3 separate regions of the Homo sapiens genome follow, and regions 2 and 3 are each linked to region 1. Evidence: promoter capture Hi-C in 16 types of primary human blood cells and fetal thymus (Javierre and others, 2016). All regions are on one chromosome and are shown on one strand. The core of a region is centred on a gene start or on the middle of the fragment in contact, and the rest is flanking DNA. Distances in the headings are between cores, read along the strand shown.

The links. The method cuts DNA at HindIII sites, captures the fragments that hold promoters and counts their contacts. A CHiCAGO score of 5 or more calls a contact.
Region 2: a fragment that was not itself captured here is called in contact with the fragment with the promoter of TCP1 in region 1 in 1 of 17 cell types (neutrophils); the score reaches 5.4 in neutrophils.
Region 3: a contact is called between a fragment that was not itself captured here and the fragment with the promoter of TCP1 in region 1, in 1 of 17 cell types (neutrophils). The highest score is 6.8, in neutrophils.

The regions. Positions count from the first base shown.
Region 1 is chr6:159,788,235-159,790,934 of GRCh38, forward strand. TCP1 (t-complex 1) reads right to left here and starts at 1,368. Exons shown (of 12, transcript NM_030752.3): 1 at 1,171-1,368. The coding sequence starts at 1,234. MRPL18 (mitochondrial ribosomal protein L18) reads left to right here and starts at 2,233. Exons shown (of 4, transcript NM_014161.5): 1 at 2,233-2,405. The coding sequence starts at 2,354. RefSeq lists enhancers at 566-1,230, 1,231-1,894, 2,151-2,330, 2,361-2,420. The HindIII fragment of the contact is 4,019 bases long and covers 1-2,700 here.
Region 2 is chr6:160,000,208-160,002,907 of GRCh38, forward strand. All of the region lies in intron 2 of IGF2R (insulin like growth factor 2 receptor), which reads left to right. Among named protein-coding and RNA genes, the nearest start is that of AIRN, 6.1 kb to the right of the region's middle. The HindIII fragment of the contact is 833 bases long and covers 955-1,787 here.
Region 3 is chr6:160,019,014-160,021,713 of GRCh38, forward strand. The region is part of intron 4 of IGF2R (insulin like growth factor 2 receptor); the gene reads left to right. Among named protein-coding and RNA genes, the nearest start is that of AIRN, 13 kb to the left of the region's middle. The HindIII fragment of the contact is 6,450 bases long and covers 1-2,700 here.

The DNA of each region.
Region 1 (2,700 bases), core at 118-2,617:
ACAGCCCCCGTATTTCCCAAATCTACAAATCTGTGTTAATTATTTAAAAACCACCTACTAAGAGTGTAAATGGGGCCAGACACTGTGGCTCACAGGTGTAATCCCAACACTGCGAGGCCGAGGCAGGAGGATCGCTTGATGCCAGGAGTTTGAGACCCCTTTGGGCAACATAGCGAAACCCATTTCTACAAAAAATAAAAACAAAGCCGGATGCGGCGGCGCGGACCTGTGCTTGGAGAATGCAGTGAGCTATGATGGCACTCTCGTCTGGGCGACAGGTGGGACCCTGTCCCTAAACAAAGCGAGCCTATTTGGCACAGCTTTGATGCGGGGTGGAATCTGATGGCGGGGAAAAAAAAAAAAAGTAATAACCACCAATTTCATGCTCTGCCACTTCGTACAGCTATACCAGCCTTTTCCTTCAGATTCTGCAAGTTTTTTGCTCATTAAAACTCTCTTTATCTGTGAGGAGAGAAATCGGTAGTCAACGGGGAAGGTGGTGACTTTCAGATTTGTTTACGAAAAAAATTAGGAATCTATCAAGAAACAGTAAGCTCTGTAGGTATCCAAAGGCCTGACAGCAAACGCTCTGCTAAGTTAGCGCTGCCGTCTCCTGGGGTCAATGCACTCGAGTGGCGTTTCCTGGGCTAACTCTACTGTAAGAAGCTGTCAACCCGGATACGGCTGGACGCCGGACGCCCGACCTCGACTGCAGCTGCGGGCGGACAGGGCACCGGGCTCATCCGAGGGCGCGCGGATGGACCTACTCTTTTTCTGGTAAATGGTCCTAAAATAAAACCTGGCGTTTAACATGGACACTCAGGGGGTCGCCCTGAAACAAAAGGGGGTGCGAGGCGTGGCCCGCACGTGCGAGCCCGGGAGGCCCGCTTTCCCGCGGAGGGCGCGTTTCCAACGCCGCCCCGGACACCACATCCACGCGTTGCCGGTCTCAAAACCCTGCCGCGCGCGGCGGGGCTCCTCCTCGCTGTGGGAAAAGTGGGGCCACAGCGCCCTGCCCCAGAGAACGGCGGGTGGGCTGGGTCCGGCTGCGGGGCCCCGAGGCCCTTTCTGCGGAGGTAAAGGAGAGAAACGAGGGCAGCCGGGGTCCGGTCGCGGTGGGACTCGGCCCTCCCCGGCCGCAAACCCGACCCAGGCCCGGCCCGCCCTTACCGTTTTGGGAGCGGATCGTTTCCCCAGTGCTGCGGTCACCGAACACGGACAAAGGCCCCTCCATCTTGACGGCAGCGATACACGTCGAATTCTGCTTACACCGCGGGCAACCAGTATCGCGGCCCCTCGGCCGACCGGCGACCACAGCAGTGGCTGCGACGGCGTGGAGCGTACCCGAGCGATGTCCCAGGAGCTACTGGGTAACACACCACCCCACCCGCTTCCCGGCTGCCCCGGCCCGGCCGCGGGGCACGGCGGGAAGGAAAAAGAGGCAGGGACAACAGGGAGAGAAACAGGACTGTGACGGAAGTGAGGCTCCGGGGAAGGGGCGGGGTCGGCATTTTTGTCCAATTAGATAGCCGATGGGAAGGGCGCGAAAGCGGAGAACGGAAGTCGGATGTTGGACCGCTGGGAAGAGGTTGAACCTTCGCCTCAAACGATGTTGCGCAGACGCAGTGGGCCATTCTAGTGCCTTCTAGAAAAGGTTGTAAGAAGGGTGGAGCTTGGAGCTGGGGTGTAACTGGAGGGGCGGGCCCTTCTCCAAGTTAGAGTTGGGGTTCTGAGCGAGTCGTGCGTTTTAGGTTTAGTGTCTTTTCCTTGTCCCTGCTCGGGGAGCGTGAGGCAGATCGGCCGGCTTTGCTCCAGGCCTCAGGAGTGTAAGTTTAAGGGCGCGAACCTGGGTGGGACGGGGCAGTTTTTCCAGCGGGCCATACGGGAAAATTTTTGGTTCGAGGAAGACAACCACCCTTTTTAAGGAGAAAACTGCATCTTGCCCTGCCTTATTCCTACGCGGTGCCCAGGTGGGGTGTGTGTGGACCAGTCGATGACCGCCCAAGCTCTCCGAGTAGAAAACCCAAACATGGTTTTGTGGGGTGTGTGCCTTTGACCCCGGACTTAAGCAACAAGCGTGGTCTTGGGCGTAGCTACGAGGTGGTTGGTGGGCTCCAGGGCCTGCGTGCCCCTCGACGTGAGCGATGATTGGCGATGAAGGATAACAGATCGCCTTCTCGGCCACTCAGTGGCAGGGGACTTGCTACTTCCGGGTCGGTGGCGTCTGGCGTGGAGAGTTTGGGGATCTACAGCAGCCAAAGGCTTGTCCCTGACTTTATATGGCTGCTCCTGGCGAGCGACTGAGTCGTCCGTGAGGAAAAAGAGGCGAGGCTTTTCCGAGATCGTCTCAGCGATGGCGCTTCGGTCGCGGTTTTGGGGGTTGTTCTCGGTTTGCAGGAACCCTGGTAATTAGTCTTGCCCCCCTTCTCCCAGCTCACTCGCCTGGGCTTGCACAGTACATTGGAACGTGCGGGTTCTATTTTGTATTCGACGTGCCGGATCGAAATAGAGCTCGCGGCACTGCGAAGACCACAGTAGGAAGTTAAGGACGGGGTCAGTGCTGACTCCACCCTGTGGGCATACGTATTTTTCGTCCCCTCGGGCCTAAAGATTGGGGGTGTAAAAGCGGATAGACGTTAGAGCGGGTTCGTGCGCTGTCCATATCCGTCATTTTTAAGCCCTGTGCGGTTTTTCCCGTTG
Region 2 (2,700 bases), core at 121-2,620, 210 kb after region 1:
TTATGAAGGAGAGAGGTTGGATTCACAGTTCTGAAGGCTGTGTAGGAAGCATGGCTGGGGAGGCCTCAGGAAACTTAAAATCATGGCAGCAGGTGAAGGGGAAGCAGGCAGCTTCTTCACATGGTGACAGGAGAGGAGTGGGGCGGTGCTACACACTTTCAAACAAGCACATCTAGTGAGAACTCTTATCACGAGACAGCACTTGGGGATGGTGCTACACCATTGGAAACCAGCCCCGTGATCCAGTTACCTCCCACCAGGCCCCACCTCCAACACTCGGGATCACAATTCATCATGAGATTTGGGTGGCGAGACAGAGCTAAGCCGCATCACCAGGTATAAATGCAAATCAGAGCAATTATGAGATCTCATTTTTCTTTGAGAAGTTGGCAGAAATTTAAATGGTTGAATCATAGAGTGCTGGCAAGGAGCCTGGAAATGGGCACATTTATTTATACGTTGCTGTAGGAAGACGGTTGTCTCTAAATCCTTTTGGGAAGATAATAGTTGGTGTGAGGTTGTTTTTTTTTTTTTTTTTTTTTTTTTGAGACAGAATCTTGCTCTGTTGCCCAGGCCGGAGTGCAGTGGCGCCATCTTGGCTCACTGCATCCTCCGCCCCCTGGGTTTAAGCGATTCTCCTGCTTCAGCCTCCTGAGTAGCTTGGATTACGGGCACCACCATGTCCGGCTAATTTTTTTTTTGTATTTTTAGTAGAGATGGGGTTTCACCATGTTGGCCAGGCTGGTCTTGAACTCCTGACCTCAAGTGATCCACCCGCCTTGGCCCCCCAAAGTGCTGGGATTACAGGTGTGAGCCACCACGCCTGGCCTGGTATGAGTTTTAAAGTGCCCTGAAGCAGGGGTCCTCAACCCCCGGGCCACAGACTGGTAGCGGTTTGTAGCCTGTTAGGAGCTGGGCTGCACAGCAGGAGGTGAGTGGTGGGTGACAGAGTGAAGCTTCGTCTGTATTTACAGCCGCTCCCCATTGCTTGCACTACTGCCTGAGCTCTGCATCCTGTTAGATAAGTGGCAGCAGTAGATGCTTATAGGAGCGCGAACCCTATTGTGAACTGCACATGCAAGGGATCTAGGTTGTGACCCCTTATGAGAATCTAGTGCCTGATGATTTGTCAGTGTCTCCCATCACCCCCAGATGGGACCATCTAGTTGCATGAAAACAAGCTCGGGGCTTCCACTGATTCTGCACTGTGGTGTGTTGTATAATTATTTCAATTACATATTACAATGTAATAATAATAGAAATAAAGGGTACAATAAATGTAATATGCTTGAATCATCCCGAAACCATCCCACCCCCAGTCCAAGTCCATGGAAAAACTGTCTTTCATGAAACCAGTCTCTGGTGCCAACAAGGTTGGGGGCTGCTGCCCTAAAATTTTTTATAGTGAGAAACAAATATTAAGACCTCAATGCTGGTTTAAACAATATTACATTATTTTAAATTGAGGAATCATACATTATCCACACATCCAAGGAGCTCAGAAGAAATTAAAAAAATCATACATTAGTTTTTCCTTAGGCAAACAATATTACATATGTGAATCTTAGCAAATGTTAGCCATCATTTTCATAGGGCCTGTGAACAATATTTGGTCCCATTTGCAACCTAATTATTTTCACATTTTAAAGTGGTTTATACATTTTATATGCATTTGACCCTTGAACAACGCTAGAGTTAGGGGCACCAACCCCCTGCACAGTTGAAAATCCACATTTAACATTTCACTCCCTCTAACCTTAGCTGCTAATAGCCTGCTGTTGATGGGAAGCTTTACCAGAAACATAAATAGTCGATCAACACATATTTTGCATGTTATATGTATTAAGTACTATATTCTTACAATAAAGTAAGCTAAAGGAAAGAAAATATTAAGAAAATCAGGCCGGGTGTGGTGGCTCACACCTGTAATCACAGCACTTTGGGAGGCTGAGGTGGGAGGATCACTTGAGCCCAGAAGTTTGAGACCAGCTTGGACAACATAGTGGAACCCCATCTCTGCAAAAAATAAAAAAATTAGCCAGGCATGGTGGTGCATGCCTGTAGTCCCAACTACTTGGGAGGCTGAGGCAGGAGGATTGCTTGAGCCCAGGAGGTGGAGGCCTCAATGAGCTGTAATCAGGCCACTGTACTCCTGCCTAGGTAAGAGAGTAGTGAGAGCTTGTCTCAGGAAAAAACAAATGATAAGGAAGAGAAAATTATGTTTATTATTCATTGAGCGGCAGTGGATCATCATATAAAGATCTTCGTCCTTATTGTCTTCATGTTGCGTAGGCTGAGTAGGAGGAGGAAGAGGAGGGACTGGTCTTGTTGTTCTGGGGTTACCGAGGTGAAAGAAAATCTGTGTATAAGTGGACCTGGGAAGTTCAGACCTTTGCAGTTCAACTGCATTTGATTTCCTTTTCAAGTACCTCAGATGTCTGGCTTAACAGTTAAAATTTCAGTGTAACAATAATTATAAATTTATGAGTATTATTATTTAATAATTCTTATATATTTACTAGTTATGCTAAAATTCTAAAATTTCTAATTCTAAAATTCTCTTAAATGTTCTAATACTGTGTCGTAAGTCTGAATTAATTGCTGAGTTATAAACTTTGGATTGGAGTTATATTAAACATTGCAGTAAAAATACCAAATACATTCACATTTTTTTCTAACACATCAAATATTAATATTATG
Region 3 (2,700 bases), core at 35-2,534, 230 kb after region 1:
AAAATGAGAAGTTGGTTCTTTGGAAAGATAATATTCATAGACTGTTGGTCAGATTAACCAGAAGAGAGAGGATTCAATCAGAAATAAGAAAGTAGACATTACAGCTGATACCACAAAAAAGATCATAAGAGACTTCTGTGAACATCTGTGTACTCACAACTGAGAAAATTTAGAGGAAATGTGTACATTTCTGGAAACATTCAAGTTCCTGAGATTCAACCAGGAAGAAATAGAAATTCCAAAAAGACCAATAACAAGTATTGGGATTGAATCAGTAATTTAAGAAAAACAAAACAAACAAAACAAAACAAAACAAAAACCTCCCAACAAAAAAAGCTCAGGACCAGACAGATTGACAGCTGAATTCTCCCAGAGGCACAGGGAAGAACTAGCACAAATCCTACTGAAACTGTTACCAAAAATCAGAGGAGGGAATCCTCCCTAACTCATTATTTGAAGCCAATATTATCCTGATAACCAAAGCCAAACAAGCACACAACAAAGAAAGAAAACTAGAGGCCAATATCTATGATAAACAGATTCAAAAATCTCAACAAAATACTAGCAAACTGAATGTAACAGCACTTCAGAAAAATAATACATCACGATCAAGTGGGTTTTATTCCAGGGTTGCAAGGATGGTTCAGTGTATGCAAATCAATAAATGTGATTCACCATTTAAACAATTTAAAAAAAAGTCTGACCATCTCAGGAGATACAGAAAAAGCATTTGATGAAATTCAACATCCCTTAATGAAAAGACAACACTCAAAAAATATTAGAAGGGACATACCTCAGAATAATAAAAGGCATATACGACAGAACCACAGCCAGCATCGTACTGAACAGGGAAAAGTTGAAAGCATTTCCCCTAAGAAGTGGAACAAGACAATGATGCCCACTTTTTCATCTCTCCTATTCAACATAGTACTGGAAGTCCTACCTGGGGCAGTCAGGCAAGAGAAAGAAAACGCATCCAGATCAGAAAAGAGACAGTCAACGTGTCTCTGTGTGCTGATGATATGATCTTATACCTAGAAAACTCTAAAGTTTCCTCCAAAAGTCTCTTAGATTTGATACGTGAATTCAGTAGTTTCAGGATACAGAGTCATTGTACAAGAATCAATAACATTTCTACACACCAGTAATGATCAAGCTGAGAATCAAATCAAGAAGTCAATCCCATTTATAATCACTAAAAAAAAAAAACCCACTAGAAATACATTTAGCCAAGGAGGTGAAAAATCTCTACAAGGAAAACTGTAAAACACTGATGAAAGAAATTGTAGATAGCAGAAGTGGGAAAACATCCCATGTTCATGAATTGGAAGAATCAATATCATTAAAATGATTATATTGCCCGAAACAATCCACAGATTCAATGCAATTCCTATCAAAATGCCAACGTCATTTTTTATGGAATTAGAAAAAGTCCTAAAATTCATGTGGTCCCCCAAAAAATCTTAATAGCCAAACCAATCTTAAGGAAAATGAACAAAGCTAGAGGCATCACAATACCCACCTACAGATTTTACTGGAGGGCTATAGTAATCAAAACAGCTAGTACTGATAGAAAAATAGACACACAGATTAATGGAACAGAATAGAAAACCCAGAGTCAAAGCTGCATACTTACAACCAACTGATCTTTGACACAGTTGACAAAAACATACACTGGGGAAAGGACACCCTATTTAGTAAATGGTTCTGGGAAAACTGGACAGCCATATGCGGAAGAATGAAACTGGACCCCTATCTCTTACCACATATAAAAATTAACTCAGGTCGGATTAGCGACTTGAATGTAAGGCCTGCCTGAAACTATAAAATTCCCAGAAGAAAACCCAGGAAAAGCTCTCTCGGATCTTCGCCTAGGCAAAGAATTCATGACTAAGACTTCAAAAGCAAATGCAACAAAAATAAAAATAGAGAAATGGGACTTTATTAAACTTAAAAACTTCTGCACAGCAAAATACATAGTCAGCAGAGTGAACAGACAACATACAAAATGGCCAAAAGTGTTTTTAAACTCTACATTCAACAAAGGATTGATATTCAGAATCTACAAAGAATGCAGACAACTCAACAAGAAAAACCACAATCCCTTTAAGAAGTGAGCAAAGGACGTGAACAAACATTTCTCTAAAGAAGACATACAAATGGCCAAGAATCTCCTAAACATACTCCACATCACTAATCATCAGAGAAATATACAAATTATTATAAAACCACATGGAATACTATGCAGCCATAAAAATGATGAGTTCATGTCCTTTGTAGGGACATGAATGAAACTGGAAACCATCATTCTCAGCAAACTGTCGCAAGGATAAAAAACCAAACATCGTATGTTCTCACTCATAGGTGGGAATTGAACAATGAGAACACATGGACACAGGAAGGGGAACATCACACACCTGGGACTGTTGTGGGGTGGGGGGCGGGGGGAGGGATAGCATTAGGAGATATACCTAATGCTAAATGACGAGTTAATGGGTTCAGCACACCAACATGGCACATGTATACATATGTAACAAACCTGCACGTTGTGCACATGTACCCTAAAACTTAAAGTGTAATAATAATAAAATTAAAAAAAAAAGTTTAGGAAAAAAAAAATAAACTGCATATATGGAACGTAATAAAAAAAAACCCCACAATGAGATACCATCTTATACCAGTCAAAAATGGCAATTATTA